3 separate regions of the Homo sapiens genome follow, and regions 1 and 2 are each linked to region 3. The links are contacts of gene promoters, found by promoter capture Hi-C in blood cells and fetal thymus (Javierre and others, 2016). All regions are on one chromosome and are shown on one strand. Each heading gives the region's core, a stretch centred on a gene start or on the middle of the fragment in contact. The rest is flanking DNA. Distances are from core to core; before and after follow the strand shown.

Evidence for each region. Contacts are between HindIII fragments. The CHiCAGO score rates a contact against its expected background, and 5 or more counts as called.
Region 1: a contact is called between the fragment with the promoter of MMGT1 here and the fragment with the promoter of ENOX2 in region 3, in 1 of 17 cell types (activated CD4 T cells). The highest score is 6.1, in activated CD4 T cells.
Region 2: a contact is called between the fragment with the promoter of THOC2 here and the fragment with the promoter of ENOX2 in region 3, in 3 of 17 cell types (total CD4 T cells, non-activated CD4 T cells and naive CD8 T cells). The highest score is 8.9, in total CD4 T cells.

The regions. Positions count from the first base shown.
Region 1 is chrX:135,972,529-135,975,389 of GRCh38, forward strand. It overlaps MMGT1 (membrane magnesium transporter 1), which reads right to left and starts at 1,460. Exons shown (of 4, transcript NM_173470.3): 1 at 1,069-1,460. The coding sequence starts at 1,147. It also overlaps a transcript of SLC9A6 not described here. RefSeq lists an enhancer at 1,009-1,538 and a silencer at 1,549-1,658. The HindIII fragment of the contact is 2,640 bases long and covers 104-2,743 here.
Region 2 is chrX:123,731,553-123,734,409 of GRCh38, forward strand. It overlaps THOC2 (THO complex subunit 2), which reads right to left and starts at 1,500. Exons shown (of 39, transcript NM_001081550.2): 1 at 1,400-1,500. The coding sequence starts at 1,470. RefSeq lists an enhancer at 1,436-1,515. The HindIII fragment of the contact is 10,140 bases long and covers 628-2,857 here.
Region 3 is chrX:130,901,888-130,904,601 of GRCh38, forward strand. ENOX2 (ecto-NOX disulfide-thiol exchanger 2) reads right to left here and starts at 1,322. Exons shown (of 15, transcript NM_006375.4): 1 at 1,162-1,322. RefSeq lists enhancers at 688-1,207, 1,068-1,337, 1,208-1,727, 1,348-1,537. The HindIII fragment of the contact is 1,854 bases long and covers 1-1,811 here.

The sequences.
Region 1 (2,861 bases), core at 210-2,709, 5.1 Mb after region 3:
CTACCTTTAACCAGGAATTTCCTCATCTGTAAAATGAAGGGGTTGGACTTCAGTGAACTCCAAAGGCCCTTCTCGCCCCACAATCATATAATTCTACAGTTAAAGCTTACTGTAGAAAATGACACAGTACTCCAGTGTATCCTAATCTCTTCCAGGACAGTGTTTCTCAAACTAATGCGCATACAAATCACCCTGGGATCTTATTAAAACCCAGATTCTGATTGAACAGGTCTGGCCTGAGTATCTTCTAATTACCTGCCAGGTGGTGCTCATGATGCTGGTCTGTTGATCACACTGTAAGCAGCAAGGATCTAGGATACTTTCCTTAACCTCCCAGTTCCCCCAAAATATGACTGTCCCTGCTTCCATGCATCCTTATATACTTTTAGCATATCACTTTATTGTAACTACTTCTTGATCCACTTGTTTTCCTTTAGACTTTGAACTGGCTCAGGGCATCACTGTATCTCTAGCACCTAAACACAGCGCAATTTCAAACAGCGACCCAAAACTGAATTTCATAACGCAGTGTAGCACAAATCTTTTGCCCAACGTCACACAGATGTAGCGGTAATGCAAGTTTTTAACAACCAGTCCTTTAGACTCCCAGTCCAGTGCTCTTTCTCCTGTACCACAGTGCCTCCCTGAGGCAATCGGTCACTTAACTACTCAGTCTCTGCCTGGACAGCCCAAGAGTGCCCAAGATGTTGTCCACTTGGTTGTCGTGGGACCATGAGCAACCAGAGTCCTCAATCTCACAACTGTGCCTGATCTGCCCCATGCTGGATCTGACATCACTTGTCCTGGATTCCTGGAGACTCCTATTCTGAACCCTCTCCCAGACACCTCCTTCCAACCTTCCTGCAATTTCAGGTGCCACACTCTCTCCAAATTCAAACTCCGAACCTTCCACTGGGAACTCCTGCACTGATTTTCTTAGTCACCCCAAACTGTAAGGTCTCAAAGGACCATTAATCTGACACTCGGTCCGATGGTCCCTTAGAAGTGCGCCCACACACCGCCCCTAGGGTTCCACACCGAAGCGGTCCCCGTGCCCCAGGCACTTACGCTGCGCAGCGGAAAAGGCGGCGTGGGCTAGGGCAAAGAGACCGATGCCCACCAGCCCCTTCCACAGCGACGGCGCCATGATGCCGAAGGAGCAGCAGCCCAGCAAAAGAAGCGAAGGACGGCGGAGCTGTTTCTTCTTCCACCGGCGGGTGTCCGCGCGCCGCAGAAAGATGACGTCACTGAAGTCCTGAGCGCAAAGTGTCTCAGTGGTGGAAAAGCCAGAGGGCTGTGAGAAAACGGAAACAGGAATGCCGGGAAGAAGCAGAAAGCTACACGGAAAAAGGTCCGCGAGAACCCACGAACCTGCGCTATGGAGGCCTCTCTAGGAGGGCCGGAGCCCAACGGAGTCATAAACGAAGAGGCGAAAGCGGGAGCTACGGGGAAGCGAAGAGGAAGGGCGCCGGCAAATGGGGGCAGGGCCAGTGGCGAGAACAGGGTGGGGCAGAGGGACGGGGGCCTGCGTAGAGAACGTGTGGGGGCGAGGGGCGGGGTAGGCAGACGGGCGGGGTGGGGAAGACGCGCGGGGCCCGCACGAGGGTGGGTGTAGCCGAGGGGCGGGGCCAGTGGGTGGGTGGGTGGGCGTAGCCGGGGGGGGGGGGCCCTGGTGGGTGCGGTCGAGTGGCGGGGCCTGCGGGGAGGATGGGTGGGGCCGAGGGGCGGGGAGGAGGTGGGGCCGAGGGGCGGGGAGGAGGTGGGGCCGAGGGGCGGGGAGGAGGTGGGGCCGAGGGCGGGGCCTACGGGAGGATGGGTGGGGCGTAGGGGGCGGGGCGGAGGGGACGGAGAGTGGGTGAGGGCCGAGGGGGCGGGGAGGAGGTGGGACCGAGGGGCGGGGAGGAGGTGGGACCGAGGGGGCGCGGAGGAGTGGGACCGAGGGGGCGGGGAGGAGGTGGGGCCGAGGGGCGGGAGGAGGTGGGGCCGAGGGGCGGGGCTGGGGGCGTTGGGGAAAGGCGGTAGGTGCTGGATATAGACCCCTGACAGTTGTGTTTTGTGGGTTGGTTGGTTTTGGCTTTTTGTGAAACTGTGCCTTTTGTTTTCTGTAGGCCTTTCCTGTGCTTCAGCTCCCTGGAAACTGGCACTGCAGAAGGAGGCAAGGGTGTTAAAACGAGGAGGCAGTGTCAGGACAAAATCCCAGGATCTGGAACCCCAAATACTTGGCTCGCGGGAAGTGCTCAGTAAACCATTTTAAGGTCCTGGAGAAAGATTCGCGCAAAAAGAGGTGTAGCGCGGGGGGAGTGTTTTGTCGTGAAAAGAACCAGCTTACATTAAGGAAGAAATGAAAGAGGAAATTTTAAAATGCTAATAACGCAGCCTTCTTGCCTTGTCTCTATCTCTGATCCGGGTAAAATGTATACTCCTCTGCCCATTTTTCTTTGTCTTCATCTCCTGAAATGTAGACATTTAATAGTGAGCTTCTCCCCTTGACCTCATCACTCTGCTGTCCCCTGGGGAGCTCACCCATTCATTCCCACCGCTTCAGCCAGCAAAGGTATTACAGTGATTCCAAATCGACATCTCTATCACAAATATCTCTCCTTAGCTCCAGGGCTGCATTTCTGACTACCAGATAGGCATTTATTTCCTGTGGCACTTAAAACGTAATATGGCTAAAATGGAATTCATCCTTTTTTTCCAAATTCTGCACCAGTTCCTCCAGTGACCCCTGACTGAGTGGCAAAGCTTTGTAAACTGCATATCACAAGGTAAATGCAAAGTATGATCACCATTCTTTTCCTTTAACCCAATCAGAATTCTACGTTTTAGTTGCATCAATTTGCTTTTGCTCAAAGATGCGT
Region 2 (2,857 bases), core at 250-2,749, 7.2 Mb before region 3:
GCTTTACAGGCATTATTTAGTCTTCACAACAATCCTTTGAGTAGAGTACTTATTATTCCCAATTTACTCAAGGGGAAACAGTCCAAGTGGTTAAGGAACTTACCCAAGGTCACTCAGCTACTTAAGTGGCTAAGACAGCCGCTTATTTAGGGAATTCTAGAGCTCACACTGTTAAGACTTCATACAGCAGTGCGGGGGGTGCGGGGGAGGAAGCCACATAGGCTGGCACTATTACAAGCGCGGGATCCGGCAACGCGTTCCTCGTGTTTCGTTCCAAGTAACGAAGTTACAAAGATTTGAATCTTTAGCATGAGCCACGGTAAACTGGCTACTAGAAATGGAGAGGGGTGGGCAAGGACGACAAAAATGGCTAACGAGGGTTAATTTCATCCAGGGTTGAGCTTTAGCATCTAAAAGCGACCCAGAGAAGGAAATGAGATGTTATTAATATTTGTTCTTATATCTGAGGTTTGCTTTGCTGCTTAAACGACTCCTTCCAGGGGAAGGGGAGGAGGGAGCGCTCTAACGTGGGGGCGAGAAGACTAGGGGTATGGCAAATTACTGTTTTCGGTGTTACGGGGGAAAGTTTCACGACTAAAGGAAACGCGTTATCCTAGGTACTGGAGAAGCTTGGAGAGCTGCCAGAATTAGTTGCAGTCCCAGGATAAAATGGGGTTTAGGGAACATTTAATGACGAAAGTTGAATCCAACCCGAAATAGCTCTAAGGTGAAAAGACGGAGCAAAGAAATGTCGGTGGTTCTTCAGGGAAAGCGGCAATCCCTGCCACACTTCCCCACGGCGCTACGCGAGGCCGGGACAGTCGAGAGACCGCTCCCCGGGAGGGCGAGAGGTGCCAAACCGGGTTCTTCGCGGCGCCCCGGGCTTCGCGGCAGCGGGCGAAGAGGAGGGGAGGGGAATCCGGGACGGTTCGCCCTCCTTGGACTTCAGGCAGAGGAGGCGCCAAGCTCCAAACTGCGGAGTCCAACGGGTGCAGAGTGAAGAAATGGCACAGAGAGAGATGGAAAGTCCGAATTGCCCCGGCTCAGCCCCATAAAGATAAAGGAGCCAAGTGAGATCAAGCGAAGAGGGGGACACAAAAAGAGACCAAGAGGGAGCGCGGAGACCTGCAGGGGCGGAATAAGAGTTCTACTAAGAGGCTAAAGGAAGCCGAGCTACCGCAGGCAGTAGCGATTTCTGGGAGGCCAGGGAAGGAAGGAGGTCCGCGGCGGTAAACAGCACCTCTCCCCGAGTTCGAAACTCCTAGACGACCATCCACGCCCGCCGCCCGGGTGGGGGAGGGGGTACATCTTTCCCCCTCAACCTCCCACTACAGGTGAGAGTGCAGCTGACGCCCTGGCCCGGCCCGGCAGTGCGCCTGCCTCCGGCCCGAACACTCACAATTCGCCTCTCCCTGATTTCTCCCAGTTCTTTATCCACTCTGCGGGAACCACCACAGCCGCGGCCGCCATCTTCCTCTCACTAGTAGCAGAAGCCCGGATGTGTAGCACGCGAGCGAAGGGTCAAAGGGGAGCACCGCCCACGAGGAATGCCGGGAGCTGAGAGTTCGTTTTTCGATTTCCCGCCCCACTTTCCTCTCCACCCAGCGGAAACCCGAGGCAAGGCAGCCAACGACGTGGAGACTCGCGGGCCCCTTTGCGAGGTTACTACACGGGTTGCGCCCTCCGAAGTCTTCGGCCTTACTTCCCATTAGAACAGAGAAATGCCATCCACAGGCCAACAAGTAGACTTCATCTTCTTCCGTAATATCTACCCCTAACCACTAATACAAACACGCATTTTTCAAGCACCTAATATGTGCTAGACACTGGGAATAGAGAAATAATAGTCTTTGGGAAAGCCATAAATATAAGCAAATAAATTACATTACGCCCTGCTGACTGCTGAGATAAAAGAAAATAATCGGGTCCCTCTCCTTCTCCCTCTCCCTCTCCCGTCTCCCTCTCCCGTCTCCCTCTCCCCACGGTCTCCCTCTCCCTCTCTTTCCACAGTCTCCCTCTGATGCCGAGCCAAAGCTGGACTGTACTGCCATCTCGGCTCACTGCAACCTCCCTGCCTGATTCTCCTGCCTCAGCCTGCCGAGTGCCTGCGATTGCAGGTGCGCGCCGCCACGCCTGACTGTTTTTCGTATTTTTTTGGTGGAGACGGGGTTTCGCTGTGTTGGCCGGGCTGGTCTCCAGCTCCTAACCGCGAGTGATCCGCCAGCCTCGGCCTCCCGAGGTGCCGGGATTGCAGACGGAGTCTCGTTCACTCAGTGCTCAATGGTGCCCAGGCTGGGGTGCAGTGGCGTGATCTCGGCTCGCTGCAACCTCCACCTCCCAGCCGCCTGCCTTGGCCTCCCAAAGTGCCGAGATTGCAGCCTTTGCCCGGCCGCCACCCCGTCTGGGAAGTGAGGAGCCTCTCTGCCTGGCCGCCCATCGTCTGGGATGTGAGGAGCCCCTCTGCCTGGCTGCCCAGTCTGGAAAGTGAGGAGCGTCTCTGCCCGGCCGCCATCCTGTCTAGGAAGTGAGGAGCGTCTCTGCCCGGCTGCCCATCGTCTGGGATGAAGTGAGGAGCGTCTCTGCCTGGCCGCCCATCGTCTGAGATGTGGGGAGTGCCTCTGCCCCGCCGCCCCGTCTGGGATGTGAGGAGCGCCTCTGCCCGGCCGCGACCCCGTCTGGGAGGTGAAGAGCGTCTCTGCCCGGCCGCCCCGTCTGAGAAGTGAGGAGACCCTCCGCCCGGCAGCCGCCCCGTCTGAGAGGTGAAGAGCGTCTCCGCCCGGCCGGCCGCCCCGTCCGGGAGGGAGGTGGGGGGGTCGGCCCCCCGCCCGGCCGGCCGCCCCGTCCGGGAGGTGACGGG
Region 3 (2,714 bases), core at 72-2,571:
TCTTTTATTCCAATCAGGCAAGCCCACCTGTCTCACAGTGCTCCCTCTTCTGTTTACCCTTCTCAAAGTCCAATCTCAGTAGCAGGAAGCATTTTCTCCCTCCTCTTTGACAACTTCAAATCCCCTGTACTCTGCTGGAGCCCAGATTAAAATTCACCTCCTTCACAAAGCCTGAAAGCCGGATGAGGGCTTCAGCACTTCCCGGGTTAGGCTTGAACTTCCATAGATGAACTCACCACCCCCATCAGTATGCTCTTCCACTGACCCCTCTTAGCGTTTTTTGCACACGTTTGTAATAATACAATGATTAATATGGTCTGTTTCACACGGTCTACTTTATTCTGTAGAATAAAGGTGTGCCCCCTAAATGTTTGTCAACATTAGTGCTATCAGTCTTTGCTGGAAACCCCTAAAGCGCTGGATTTTTATAACCAGTCTAACTTGCCTTTTACTCTCACCAGAACCCTGCACTGAACCTTAAACACACATTTCTCAAAAGCAAGATTCCTTCCCTCTTTTGCTTCCCATCCCTTCTAGAAATTGAGGGGAAACTCTCCCCACTTCAAAGACCTGGTGGGGGAAGTGGCAGGTGGCTGAGGGGCCAGTAAAGAGATGGCGATCAATTAAGGAGGCAAAAAGAGAAAGTTTGAAAAAAAAAAGTCACGCCCTGAGCGTGGCAAGGAATTCCCATGCCCCAAAGAAAATGGGGAGTGTAGCGCAGGGAGGGTTATGTGCCCAAACCTGAAATACAAATTGAGGGAAAAGAGGAAAGAGATCACCCAATTCCTGCGGTAAGAATTAGAGTCCAGTCACCGCCTAGGCAAAACCCTGGACGCAAACCCCAACTTCGGACCTCTGAGGAGGCACAGAGCCAGGGGGAGGGGGGCGGCGTCGTGGGAAAAAAAAAAAGGGGCGGGCGAGTTGGACCAAAAAAAAAAAAAAAAAAGAGCAAAGACAGCGCGCTCCCGGGCTCAAGAGAACTGGCGCCTAGAGCTCAAAAGCCCACCCCCGACTCCCAGTCCCGATACCCCCTCCCCTGCAGAGGTGGAGCTGGGTGGAGTTAGGCGCTGAGGACCGCGGCCCCGGAAGCACCCTCCTCCCTAGGCCCCCTCAGTCCCACAGTCCCCAGCCACGGCCACCGGGGCTTTCTGCCTCTCTGACCTCCAGCTCCCCGGCTACCGAAGCGCTAGTCCTTATACAGCCGCGGAAAATCGGGCCGGCGCGGCAGTTCCTGGGCTCGTAGTGCCCTCGCGGCGCCCCACGCCGCGCCACTCTCTTCCGAAATGCCCGCCTCGCGCTTCCAGGCCTAGACCCGGCACTCTGGCCCAAGGCTGGACTCTCACACACAGGGTGCCCACTGCGGCGTCTCCTATTGGCTACTGGTCACCGGGGAAGCCGGAGGCCCGAGCCCATGGCTTCATGGGAAATGTAGTTTGAGGTCGCTGGAGGCTGTTCTTCCTGGGGGTAACTCGTGTTGACATTGGCAGACAGACACAAGTGAGGACCGAGAATTATGGGAGATGGAGTTGCGGGACACTTATTTCTCTATACGCACAATTCTTCCCCTCCCCTTCCGATTGTCCCCAGCGTTCAGACGGGGAAGGGTATTCTGGGTATTGTAGTTTGGGTGCACTGTCTAGAGAATCTCTCTTGGGGTTATGGGTTTGTGCTTGTGGGGACAGACGAAGGCTCTAGATTTATTTTCATGTCGGTTAAGCTCTTAGCATTTTGCGGGAAGCACTTTCTATCGTGATTTGAAATTGTTATTGAGTTTTAAGTGTTTTTCAAAAGATGATGTTTATTCTTTGGTAAGCTTAGAATTTTAATTGAGAGTTATAGTCCTTTAAAATTGTTAAAGTGTGTTCCTTGTGAACCACCTGCATTAAAATCACTTGAAAGGTATGGAAGAATGTATATATTTTTTTCTAATTGGAAATTATAGTTCCCCCTGGAAACAGTGTCATAAATAGGCATAGAAATGTGATCTACACCAGCCCAGAAGAAGCCTATTTAATCCATAATGAAGCTATGTTGTTGCCATGAAAAACAGTGGCCACATAAACTGCTATAAATAACAATTTAGAACAGATAGACAATACAACTTAAGTACAAACGAGTAACTATATGTGTCTTTAAGAAACTTAACCTTTTGAGTAAAAATATGTTACAAGAGCTGGATAAAGACATAGGTGGGGAATGCCAAGCACTTCCAAGTGACTTAAAGGTTGAGGAAAATGGTTGTTTATTAGGGCTAATTTCACTCCCAACTTTTGACCTTTTTTTTTCTCTGTTAGAGATGAATCCTTGTAGCCTTGTTACAGTTGAATTACTACAACTTCTTGATGAGGACAACTTTTCGACTCACGAGTAAAATGAAGGGAAAGACAGGGGAATTGCATTTTGCTGAGGTAATTGCCCAATATTTTAAAAAGATAAGTGAAGGAGGAAGACGATTTAATAAATTCAACCATTTATTCAGCATAGTGCTTTGTGCAAAGCTCTGGGCTAGGCACTGTTGCCACAGAATTGGAAAAATAGTCCCTACCCTCAAGTAGCTCAAAATCCAGGTGAGGGGAGTTGTAGTAGAGGAGAATCTGGGGGGAGGAATAGATGAGTATACAATGTGCAAAATGCTGTAAAGAAGTCTACATAGGGTTCTATAGGAACATAGAGGAGGAAGAACTTGTTCTACTTCTGGAGAACTGGTTGAAGAA